Regions from separate parts of the Homo sapiens genome. Here regions 1, 2 and 3 are each linked to region 4. The links are contacts of gene promoters, found by promoter capture Hi-C in blood cells and fetal thymus (Javierre and others, 2016). All regions are on one chromosome and are shown on one strand. Each heading gives the region's core, a stretch centred on a gene start or on the middle of the fragment in contact. The rest is flanking DNA. Distances are from core to core; before and after follow the strand shown.

Region 1 (2,931 bases), core at 420-2,919, 410 kb before region 4:
ACACTGGAGTGCATCATGTGGAGTCTGACAAAAAAGATCTCAGCCATATTTTTTCTTAAGTGTGTGAAAAACCCAGGATGTAGCAGGGCTACTTGTCAGAAGGACTGGGTATGTTAATTACCCAGGGAAATTATTTTCTTGGATGGGGTGAGATCTCTGAGGTGCTGTTATAAGTAAAACTTTAAAAGTGACTTTTTATATTTTAAATATATTTATAATAACAACATAGAAATGTATATTTTATATAAAATAATAAGCGACAGCATTTGGTGAGTTCTTTGCCACCATTCTCACTCATCTCTCCCCTTCCTCTTCTCTATGGTTCCTGACTCCAAAATCAGAAGTTTTTCAAGTGAATCTGTTGCCATCTGCATACACAACTGTGGTAGGAAACATTGCTTTTTGGTCCAAAACTTAATGACCTGTTTTCAGCCCTTCCATTCTTCCCTTTAGAACTCAGGATGATCCCAGCTTTGATTCACTGGAAACTTGCCTGTCCTCAGATGGGGGTGAACAGGTAAGAACCTGAACTGTGAAGTGGGCTTGTGACTGGTATTTTGATCCTAGAATGGTCAGTTTCAGGCTGGGAAATCAGAGCTATTAGACTAGTAGCCAAAGTTAGAGAGAAGAAGGCAAAGTACAATATACACACAGTGTCTTTCTACTAATCAATACCTTTCCATTATATGCAGTGTCTCTGAAGTGATCGGCAATTGTAGAAATTGATGTTTTAGTGACTTGTCTTCTCACTTAGCCACAGTTAATAATTACTCTCTTCTCTCCTCCTCTATCCCTCCTTCATAACATTGACCTCAAAATGCCATGTATGGTCCCAGAAGTTAGATCAATGGTCAATATAAAATATAAATGCCCACTGATTTACTATTCCTTTGAAGTCTTAGAAGGAACACAAAATAAAACAAGGTGTAATGTTCTTACTTACATTTCTCAGAACCTACAGTGAGGTTAAATGGTCCCTCTTGCATGGGTCCTATCATAAGAAGACACACTCAAATCTCTCAGCCATAGAAGATGATGCAATCACCCATTGATATTTTGGTTTGGAAGCCACTTAAAGGACCCTAAGCTTATTCTTGTAACTGGCTTCCTTGTTCTCTGTGGGGTTTCCATTAGCTACCCCATCCCCATCAATAACAAGTGCATTTGTATCTAGTTGGGCATTTTACTTTGAGCTCCTTTAGTAGCAAGAAAGAGACTGGGTTTTTAGCTGCCTCCTGGGAGTCTTTAAGGAACCCCAGTTAGTTACAAAGTTCAGTGGCAGCTTAGGAGGAAGACCAGTACCTTTGACTCTTTTTTCCCTTTGTTTTTCTAGGACAAGACGAAGGCCTCTAACAGGACCGTGACACAGCCTCCTCTGTCCACCGTCCAGCTTACCTATCCCCAGTGCCTCTGGTCCTCTGAAACTTTCACAGGGAATGGGGTCAGGGCAAGCAACCCAATCCCTGTCCTCCAGACCTCTGGCACTTCTGGGCTACCTGCTGCTGGTGACCAGTCAGAGGCATCCAGGGCCTCTGCCAGCTTCTTACCTCAGTCAAAGCACAAGGAGCTCAGAGCAGGGAAGGGAAATGGAGAGGGTGGAGTGGGATACCCTCGGCAGACCAACCCACGGCCTGACATTGGGCTAGAGGGAGCCCAGGCCCCTCTGGGTATCCAGCTCAGAACTCCTCAGCTGGGAATTCTGCTTTGCCTGTCAGCCACCCTGGGCATGGCCCTGGCCGCTGGCCTTCGCTACCTGCACACCCAGTATTGCCACCAGCAGACAGAAGTGTCTTTCAGTGAGCCCGCTTCGGATGCTGTTGCCAGGAGCAACAGTGGTGAGACTGTGCACGTCAGGAAGATTGGGGAGAACAGTTTTGTTTTGGTTCAAGCAGAGTACAACTGGATCACTCCTTCTGTGGGTAGCAAGAAAACAGTCCTCTGAGAAGACTGTCACCCCAGACCTCTCAGTGGCCCTCCTTGGGCCCTGGAGAGTGTCCCAGACAGAGCAGAGATAATGAGAATAACTGATGAAGACAGGGACTCATTGTGCCTCTGTCAATGTGCAGTTAGTGGAGGAACCCGGGAGAGGACACTTTCATCAACAGAGGGAGTTATTCCTGAGCTTTGTTGTCTTAACATCTGTAATTGGGCTTCCTTCTTTCTTTTTGCAATTAGACGTTCTGTTTGAAGACTTAAACTCAACACAATGAATATTGTATAACCCGCTCATTAACTAGACCCCTGTGGCCACTAAGCTTCCTCTGTTGTGGTAAGGAAGCCATAGAAATAAAAATACTGTCCCTCCTTAGTGTCTCATCTCTTCTAACTCTTTGGGGAAAAAAAGTAATGTTGGGTTGTGTCTCCTGCAAGAAAAAGAACTGCAGCTCTCACTTTGCCTTCCTAAACCACCCCCAAAGAAGTTTTCTTTTCAAAACTGAATTCAACAACTTGCTAGAGTTCTGATTTGGATGACTAGGTGAATGCAAGGGTATTTGGTCTTCTGGGCAACTCAGCAGCCTGGCAAATCCGCCATGGAAATTGATCCAAAGTCAGGAAAGTTTTTGAGAGCTTGATTGAACACATCTTCAGGAAAACATATACATGCAACACAAGGCCGTAAACACCAGAGTGGGGTAAGAAAGCCTTTTCATCAGGTGTAAATGGATCTGAGACCTCCCATCCATTTACACTTGATGGAAACATTCGTGTATCCCAACAGCTAGCAGACATAGTGCCTTTTGCCAAAGGTCAGGCTGAAAAACATTATTATACCAGCATAGTTTGAAGAACAGTCTTTACTTGTCTTTTCAGGGAATATCAGGAAGAAAGCTTCATGGATGAAGGTCATCTACCTGATCTCATAACCTTATGAAGATTGCTTTGATTTAACAGTGGCTCCACAGATACTATCTGAGGTCAAAACAACAGATC
Region 2 (2,720 bases), core at 24-2,523, 310 kb before region 4:
CAGCCTCTGAGATACTCCAAGATGTTACAACCTAGGCCTCAGCCACCTAATTGTGGCTGTAACATCTCCCCCGCTCTTCTTAAATGAGTTACATGAGTAAGAGATGTCTCTCTTCCATAATGAAGAAAACCCAGGTGATGCAGCCATTCATTGTGCACTTACCAGATGCTGAGCTCTATACTAGTCCCTTGACCTACTGCAAGTGGGGACCTCAGACAGGCCTGCATCCTGTGCCCACCAAGGGTTGCATCTGGGAAACTGTCCTGTGATCCCAGGTCTTGGAAATAAACTAATGGATGATTCCAGTTTCTCACATCTAGTAGCAGGTAGTTACATAATAAGTCTTTTCTTCCAAATTAATGCAAATAGTCTCTTTGGTTTCAATTTAACTAACTGAAAATTCTGCGTTGGTGAAGTCCATGTCAATGAAGTTTGTTATGCTGAGGAAAGTGATCTGATTATTTGACTCTTCTTACCTTGTCAAAATGGAGCCAGCATTTCAAAAGGGAGGGTAAGGATGAGGTTTATTACTTGAAGGTAATGTCTTTCATGAAAGATGTGGAATCCAACTGTTTAGTAGTATATCTATCCCTCCCTATTTCCTACTCAGCGGGTAAGAAATGAAGTCCCTCATTCTATTACTCTAATTGAATTCCAACTTGGGTAATTATACTACAATTAAATAAATTTTCCCCATAGTTTTAATTCACTGATAAATAGTGTTAGTCAAACAGCTACATTACATTCCCAGAAACACATCCCCACTACATTTCAGTGATAAGCAGAGTGATTTATATTTGGAAGATGTGTGTATGAAAAGATGCACAGTTCATAAAATATTTTAGGTATCATTCATGATTACATATGCCTTGCTCAGCATGAGATAACATTAATTTCTATTATAATCTTTCATCTAATTTCTCATATGCTTAGTGCCAAAAGAAATAAGACAGCTAATTAGCATTTCTTGTTTTCAGAACAGTTTTTGTTTAGTTAACTAGAAGCGTGTATTGATTTGTATTTTTAATTTTTAAAGCACCTTTCATTATCTCTGGGCGATAGAATGGAGGAGGTGTTACTTCCCATTCTACAGATGAAAAAAATTGAGGCAGCCTTCCCCAAGGTGAGGAAGCTAGTTATCATCAGTATCAGCCTTGGAACCCAAGCTTCCTCTGATCCCTGGTCCTAGGGCTCTTTCTGTTAAACACTATCAAACACTGGGTCACTATCAATCACTTTAGTTTTACTAATGAGAAAATAAAGAGCAGCGCAGTTTTTGTAACCTGTGTCATGGGGTCATTTATTTGTAATATAATGATTTAGCCAGGAGCTGGAGGCCTAATGACTGGGTCCTGATCCTGTTCTTGGATCATGAAATTATGAAGCTTCTTCGTATCTGAATATTATTATGCGGTACAGCTAAACTGGAACAACAATTCCAAATATGGTGCAAAATAATTCAAATTTCATTTTTGTTCTAATGACCTTTCTTAAAGGGTTGTAGATAGCTTTTAATAAAATATATTAAAGACAACATCAAAATACTCACAAAAAGCAGCAGGAGCAGGGGTGTTATAACGATGCCCTGAAAGAAATAAAAGAGAGGATGATCATTTATCAGCCTGGAAAGCAGGACACTTTCTTTGCCATTTTAAACTCTGAGGCATAGGAGTGCTTATCTTCTCACTGCTGTTTAATAAAATCTAGGAGATAAAGAGGGGAGAGTCCCAATCTTAGCTTTCTCTTCCATAATAACATCTCTATTACAATTATTTGTATTTGGCAGCCTGAAAGCACAACCACCAATCTGCCTTAGGTTCATCTTTCCTTTTGTAAACCTAAATTCCCTTCCACATTGCACGTGGATCATACAGATAGAAGCTGGTGGCTGGCAAGCTTCCTCACTCCAAGGCTTTCAACTCTAACTTGGATAAAATGCCCCTTTTTGAGAGAAGACAGGTGGTTTAGTCCCAGTTGGGGTCCTCTCCTGAGCAAAGACCACGTCAGTTGTGATGAATGAGATGTCATGATTTTGTAATGTGAACTGGTCTCCCCTAGGAAATGAGCTGGGATCTCAAAACTCATTTCACTTGATTAGACTTCATGTCTCCATGGTGGAAGGCAAGTCTTTCATCTAATTCAGCCACATAGGACCACCTCGGTCCCTCTGCCTCCCCTAGGCAGAAATGAGCAAAAGATTTGTTTTCTTCGATGACAGGGAACAGTTTGAGGCTGTTGCCAATGAGGCAGAATACCAGCTTTTAGGTTTCTTGAAGGCAAATCTTTAAAACTAAGTGTTTGAGTTGGGAGTTGTAATGACAGGCTTCAGTTTTGGAGCAGCAGATGATTATTTGCCCGTTTTAGTTTTTCCTTTGTCTCTCAACATTTCATTATGATTTATACCAGAAAAAACATTTCAGATTTTTATTAATGAATTCTACTTGGAATTTTAAAATTTCAGAGAATCTGAGGTTGTGCGTGCCTAAGACAGAAAAGAGAGGGACAGACACACACACACACACACACACACACACACACACACACACACACACACACAGAAAAAGAGAGAGAGAGAGAGAGAGAGACAGATAGACAGAGGTACTATATATCCAGACAGTGTCCAAGATCCAGATCTGGGACTACTTCATTACTTTTGGAAGAAAAAAAGTCCTTTTGGTATTTACATGAAAGTCCCTGTGTCATAACAGTCACTCAAGTGT
Region 3 (3,078 bases), core at 208-2,707, 270 kb after region 4:
AAATTCTAGAATTTCATTTTTTTATTTGATTATAGATGACTAGTTAAAATGACCAGTTCCTAATATGTAACTAAGAAATATTTATGACAACAATATCAGTATAATTAGTGTAGAAATGAAAATATTTAATACTTGGAATGTATACTAACTTTCTGGAAAATTTTGAAATACAAAAAATGTATTAGAAATGATGTCATGGAAAATATAAAATTGACAATTTTATTTGCAATTGTGAATTGCAGGATTTTCATGTCTTTTTACTATTTACAAAGATAAATTCTCTGATTCAAATCAGTAGGACTTCTTGACCCAAACTTCAAAGTCCACTATCTAAACTTAGGAAAATCAGTGTGATTTTCAAGTTATAGTACTCTTTGAAAGTATCTCCTCTATGAAAGTCAATATTCAGATTACGTATACAGAAAAACTGTAGAAAGGTTTAAACCTAATGATAGGAACTATGTTAATTCATGGGGGAAGTTCTGGAGATATTATTAGGTGCTATGTGTTGTCTTCCCTGGCTCGGAAGGACATCACCAGAATGCCCCCGTGTCTGGGCAGCCTCGTGATCCAACATTCCCTTTCCTTAATTCCATAAAGACGTTTAATTGACTGGGTTGAAGTGTGCTAAGTTGTCTTAATGTTTCAAATTCATACATGAAACAATCTGGAATCTTCCCCCAGGAGCTCGGTGTTCTGGCTCCTTCTGTGCTCTGCCCACAGTCCCACCACTTACCTTTCCTCTCAGCGTCCTCAGCCCTGGTCAGGTAATGGTACAGGTAATCCAGTTTATCAGGCTGCTCCTCCAGGGGCTTCTGCAGCCAGAAGAGGGACCTGACTCTCGCAGCCTCCCTCAGGGCATCCCACCGCTCCATCAGAGCGAAGAGCTCGGTGAAGGACTTATGATAACCATCTCGCAGCATGTCCACACAGATATTCTTCTTGTAGGAGTTCCTATAACTGGAAATATGAATCAGAACACTCTCAGGTTTATGTTAATCCTTTCAGTCTGCACGGTATTTTCATTCTCTAATAATTAAAGGTTGAATCATGTTGCCTTTTATCCCTCAGTGAAAGCACTGAAAACTATCAAAAGATCTTTGCCTCAAACACTTATAATTGAACAACTTCTGTTTAATGAAAGATGCCAGGAGCTATCTAAACACAGTAATTTTAATGAAATTACATTATAAACATATCAGTTCCAGAGCTGAGCTCCATTTGATAAGGACAAATAAGCTAGTTGACTGATGAATATTAAAAAATACTTGATATATCAGCCTCCCACCAAAAAAAACCTCAACAAGTCAAGCAAAAATAAAACTTGCCATTTAATATCAAAACAATATTCTCTCTATATTAGTAGTTTCACTGTATGTTACAGAAGTTCATCATTCTTTCATTCATGCAGAAAATATTTATTGAAATCTATTACTAACTATATATTTTTTAATTACTTTCAGTTAGAATTAAGTTAATGATTAATAATTATATTCTCACTTCAATAATCAAATGCAAAAAGATAAAGTGACAAATGAATATTCCATTTAGTCAAGCGACAAATAGGTGCTGAGTTTCCTACTAAGTGCCAGGCGCTGTTCTAGACCAAATAGATTCCATACCCTTGTGACGCTTACATTCTAGGGGCAGAACATGACTAACAAATAAGTAAGCAAATGAGAAATAATTTCAAATCACGAAAATTTCTAGAAAGGAAATAAACAGAATTGTGAGATAATAGCTGTGTAGTGGCTATTATTCCATTAAAAGAACAATTAGATACCAAAAGATATAGCTTTATACTAATTATATTATATTCTTTAAAAAAAAATAGGACAAACGACATGATGTGATACTACTGGCAACAAAAATTCACCGTGGAGTGGAAACAGCCCAGACCACCAAGATTGAGTCCAGTTTTGCCTCACCTCCCTGGGTCTCCAGTCTTCTCATCTCTAAGCTGTGTATATTAGTATATGCTACCTACATCATGGGATTCCTCTAGGAACCAAATGAAATTAGGTATGTGAGAATACTCTGGGAAATGTGAAATCTCACTGCTGCTTCTCAATTCCTCATTATGCATTAGATTCACCTACAGAGTTCAAAAAAACAAACAAATAACAAAACAAAACAAAGTGACTAGACTTGCATCTACCAAGGATTTCTTATCCATTGGATCAACTTAGGTAGAGAACAAACAAATGAGGAGTGGCAAGCAGGAGAGTGGTGAGACAGGAAGTTTAGAAAAAAAGGCAGGGACCAGATCATGAAGAGATCTTACGGTAAAAACAACAGTGAGAAGTTTGGACTCCAAGCTGGGAGGGAGGTAGAGCTATTGGAGATCAGAGTCAGGGAACTGACATGACGAGACTGCATTTTACAAAAGTCATCTGGAAGAAGTGTCCCAGCTGAACCGCAACCTTCCCCTATATGGCAGTCAGGTTGTTACAGAACTAGTTCGTAAAGAGAATAAAGAGACCACATGGATCCTAGGTCAAAAGATCAAATGCCAACATTTAGTATGAGAATAAGATATATTTGAAATGGGGAAGAGAAAAGGAATAGTGCTTGTTACTTATTCCTGTCCTCCAATTGCGATCGATAGAGGAGAAAAGTATGGAGAAAGGCAGTGAGATGCTTGGAGGGCCATGTTCTCTTTCTCTTTCTCACTCCAGTCAAATGGAGGGGCTCAGAGAGTAGAAAAGTCAACATCCTGTGAAATGCAGTGAGAGCCAAGAGTAGAAAACACTCATATCCTGCTTCCCATCTAGGGTTATTGAAGGCAGGGAGGATTACCAACATCCCTCTCCCCACCTCCCTATACGCAAGGGCATGCAAAGGCAGCAAAAGTCCCTGCATAGCACTTCTAGGCAGAAGAGGACCAGAACCAACCCTGTAATTGCCCACAGCCCATGAATGGTATAGGAGAAGGGACTTAATATTCCAGTGGGCATCATGTGTGGCCCAGAATTTACTGGGAGGAGAGGGCTGATAAGTCTGTCACAATGTCATCTGGCCATAGCAAGGAGATGTATCCTAATGACTGCTCATGGGCTGCCCACTGGGGACTGAAGG
Region 4 (3,002 bases), core at 433-2,932:
GCTTCCGGGAGCTGACCACCCGAGGGTTCCCCTTTTCCACTCTCCTTCCCACTCTGTTTTTGTCCCAGCGCGCGCCAGCGCCTCTCAGGCCTGCCGCCTGCTCTCGCACCTGCTCGCCTTCCCCAGGCGCCCAGTGCCTGCACCTGCTCCCGGTCAACCCCCGTCCGGATTGGGCCACCCGCGGGTTCCTGCGTCGGGGTCCCGGGGCCTTCTCACCCTCGCCTGCACCCTGCTCCTTCCGCTCTCTAGGGAGGTGACAGCAGCCCCCAACACCGCGGGAAGTATAGAGAAAATGGGATCCAGAAGGAGAGGAAGTAGTGTGTGTGTGTGTGTGTGTGTGTGTGTGTGTGTGTGACAGAGAGAGAGAGATAGATAGAAAGAGATTATCTCCTTTTGCAACTGGAACCAAGAGTGTGTGTCCATCTCTAGGAAAAGTGGTCTGCACTGGGACTGGGACAGAAGTGGGAGTGAAGTGTCAGCTAAAAATAGGCTCCGCACCGAGAGGCTGTGGAAATGAAGATAAGTGAGGTTTGTGCCAGCCCCCGAGGGTGTGTGTGTGTGTGTCTGTGTTGTGGGGTGTATTCAGCAGCATATGCGCTGTGTAATTTCTGACCTTCCCTCTCCCTGTCAGTTGCCCCTTCTTCCTTTGATTGTGGCTAATGAAGAATAATAAATCCAGGGGCAGGGTTTGCCAGTGGATCCTTCCAAGACTCAACTCGAACTGTACTGGATACAGGGAGGAGGAGGAAGAGAAAAGGGGGGCAAGAGGAGCGTGTGTGTGTGCCTGTGTGTATGTGTGTGTGTGTTGTGGGAGGGGTGGGGACAGCGGGGAGGGGGAGGAGTCGCATGCGCACAGACGACCCGAGCCTGCTCCGCGGCTGTCCAATCCGCTGAGAGCTGCGAGAAATCGAGTGAGAGAAAGCCCTGCAGCCCCTCCGACCCCATGTCTCTTTGGCACCAGGCACCCGCCGGGCCGTGGGGGGCTCGTAGCCGAACGCCGACCTCCGCTCGTATTGGGCTGGGAGTTCAGAGCCGCGCGCAGAACCCGGGTTGGCCGCAACGTCTGTGTTCTCAGCGGTGGCCGGGAACCTGGGATCAGGGTCACCTGAGCTGACGGGGTGGGGGCGGGCCGAGTGGGGTTGGAAGCCTGGAACTTAGTGGTAAGCAGGAGGCGTAGGAGGTGGCAGCCAGGTAAGAGGCACTCTTACCTACCCAACGCTGGCTTGGGCCGCAACTTTATTTGGGAGTTTCTTTTTCCGGTGAGACAGAGACCCGGCAGAAGAAGCGGGAGGGGCTGGAGGCTGGTCCTTAGGTAGGCACTGCCCGGCGACTGGAGCGCGGACCTGGCCATTTGGGTGGGGTTGAGTGGGGGCGCGATTGTGAGTAGCAGCCGCGGGACGCTGCGAAGGGGCGGCGGCAACAGAGCACGGGCGGGGGCAGAAAAGAGGCGGCGGAGGGCGCGGTGGGGGAGCGCGAGGCGAGTGCTGAGAGAGCAGAAAGGACTCAAGCCTGAGGGGAGTAGAGAGGAAGAAGGGGCAACGCGAGAAACCGAACAGGAGCCGGCGTTTCCTGGCAAGGGAGGGCGGAGGCGCGCGGGAGAGAGGGAGAGAGGGAGGGCGGGGGGCGCGGGGGTAGGCGCGGGGAGAGGGGAGTATAACTCGCCGGCCGCGAGGAGCGGGGGCAGTTTCGGGTGCCGAGGTCTGCAGCTAGCGGCAAGCGGAGTCAGGCATCCGTTCAGACTGACAGCAGAGGCGGCGAAGGAGCGCGTAGCCGAGATCAGGCGTACAGAGTCCGGAGGCGGCGGCGGGTGAGCTCAACTTCGCACAGCCCTTCCCAGCTCCAGCCCCGGCTGGCCCGGCACTTCTCGGAGGGTCCCGGCAGCCGGGACCAGTGAGTGCCTCTACGGACCAGCGCCCCGGCGGGCGGGAAGATGATGATGATGTCCCTGAACAGCAAGCAGGCGTTTAGCATGCCGCACGGCGGCAGCCTGCACGTGGAGCCCAAGTACTCGGCACTGCACAGCACCTCGCCGGGCTCCTCGGCTCCCATCGCGCCCTCGGCCAGCTCCCCCAGCAGCTCGAGCAACGCTGGTGGTGGCGGCGGCGGCGGCGGCGGCGGCGGCGGCGGCGGAGGCCGAAGCAGCAGCTCCAGCAGCAGTGGCAGCAGCGGCGGCGGGGGCTCGGAGGCTATGCGGAGAGCCTGTCTTCCAACCCCACCGGTGCGTATTTCTGCATAATCACCGCTTAAAGGCACATTTTGACAGCCCCCTTTATCTGCTTGATGTTTTTTTCATGTCTGCACAGCAAATCACCCCACACCTCCAACCAATTTTCCCCTCTCTCTCTCTTAAGTATTCAGCAGGTCTTGCCTTTCATATTAATTTTTATGACCTGGGATGTTGCCTGTGCGCGTGTTGTGTTGTGTTTCGTTGTGTCTACAGGCTCACTTTCCTCCTCCTCCTGCACTCTCGGCTTCTTTCTGTGGCTTCCCTCTTTTTCTCTTCACCTCTGTTTTCAGGATTATTATTATTATTATTTTAACGATCTGGGAATGTTGTAGGCGCGGCGACGGTGTCGAGCCCTGGGCCGGGGCTTCCGGAGAGAGGGCGTACAATTCCCTGCTGAGCGTAATGTGTGCCTTCTACTTACAATTGCAGAGCAATATATTCGGCGGGCTGGATGAGAGTCTGCTGGCCCGCGCCGAGGCTCTGGCAGCCGTGGACATCGTCTCCCAGAGCAAGAGCCACCACCACCATCCACCCCACCACAGCCCCTTCAAACCGGACGCCACCTACCACACTATGAATACCATCCCGTGCACGTCGGCCGCCTCTTCTTCATCGGTGCCCATCTCGCACCCTTCCGCGTTGGCGGGCACGCACCACCACCACCACCATCACCACCACCACCACCACCAACCGCACCAGGCGCTGGAGGGCGAGCTGCTGGAGCACCTGAGTCCCGGGCTGGCCCTGGGCGCTATGGCGGGCCCCGACGGCGCTG

The links. Contacts are between HindIII fragments. The CHiCAGO score rates a contact against its expected background, and 5 or more counts as called.
Region 1: a contact is called between a fragment that was not itself captured here and the fragment with the promoter of POU4F2 in region 4, in 1 of 17 cell types (erythroblasts). The highest score is 6.0, in erythroblasts.
Region 2: a fragment that was not itself captured here is called in contact with the fragment with the promoter of POU4F2 in region 4 in 4 of 17 cell types (naive CD8 T cells, total CD4 T cells, activated CD4 T cells and 1 more); the score reaches 5.9 in naive CD8 T cells.
Region 3: a fragment that was not itself captured here is called in contact with the fragment with the promoter of POU4F2 in region 4 in 1 of 17 cell types (megakaryocytes); the score reaches 5.6 in megakaryocytes.

The regions. Positions count from the first base shown.
Region 1 is chr4:146,228,572-146,231,502 of GRCh38, forward strand. It overlaps REELD1 (reeler domain containing 1), which reads left to right. Exons shown (of 8, transcript NM_001354631.1): 7 at 454-517; 8 at 1,334-2,931. The coding sequence ends at 1,942. Among named protein-coding and RNA genes, the nearest start is that of REELD1, 15 kb to the left of the region's middle. The HindIII fragment of the contact is 1,168 bases long and covers 1,086-2,253 here.
Region 2 is chr4:146,324,412-146,327,131 of GRCh38, forward strand. It overlaps SLC10A7 (solute carrier family 10 member 7), which reads right to left. Exons shown (of 12, transcript NM_001029998.6): 6 at 1,550-1,585. Among named protein-coding and RNA genes, the nearest start is that of MIR7849, 83 kb to the right of the region's middle. The HindIII fragment of the contact is 219 bases long and covers 1,165-1,383 here.
Region 3 is chr4:146,908,290-146,911,367 of GRCh38, forward strand. TTC29 (tetratricopeptide repeat domain 29) reads right to left here. Exons shown (of 13, transcript NM_031956.4): 5 at 737-960. Among named protein-coding and RNA genes, the nearest start is that of TTC29-AS1, 24 kb to the right of the region's middle. The HindIII fragment of the contact is 4,949 bases long and covers 1-3,078 here.
Region 4 is chr4:146,637,211-146,640,212 of GRCh38, forward strand. POU4F2 (POU class 4 homeobox 2) reads left to right here and starts at 1,683. Exons shown (of 2, transcript NM_004575.3): 1 at 1,683-2,218; 2 at 2,657-3,002. The coding sequence starts at 1,931. RefSeq lists enhancers at 37-618, 619-1,200, 1,201-1,781, 1,782-2,363. The HindIII fragment of the contact is 9,518 bases long and covers 1-3,002 here.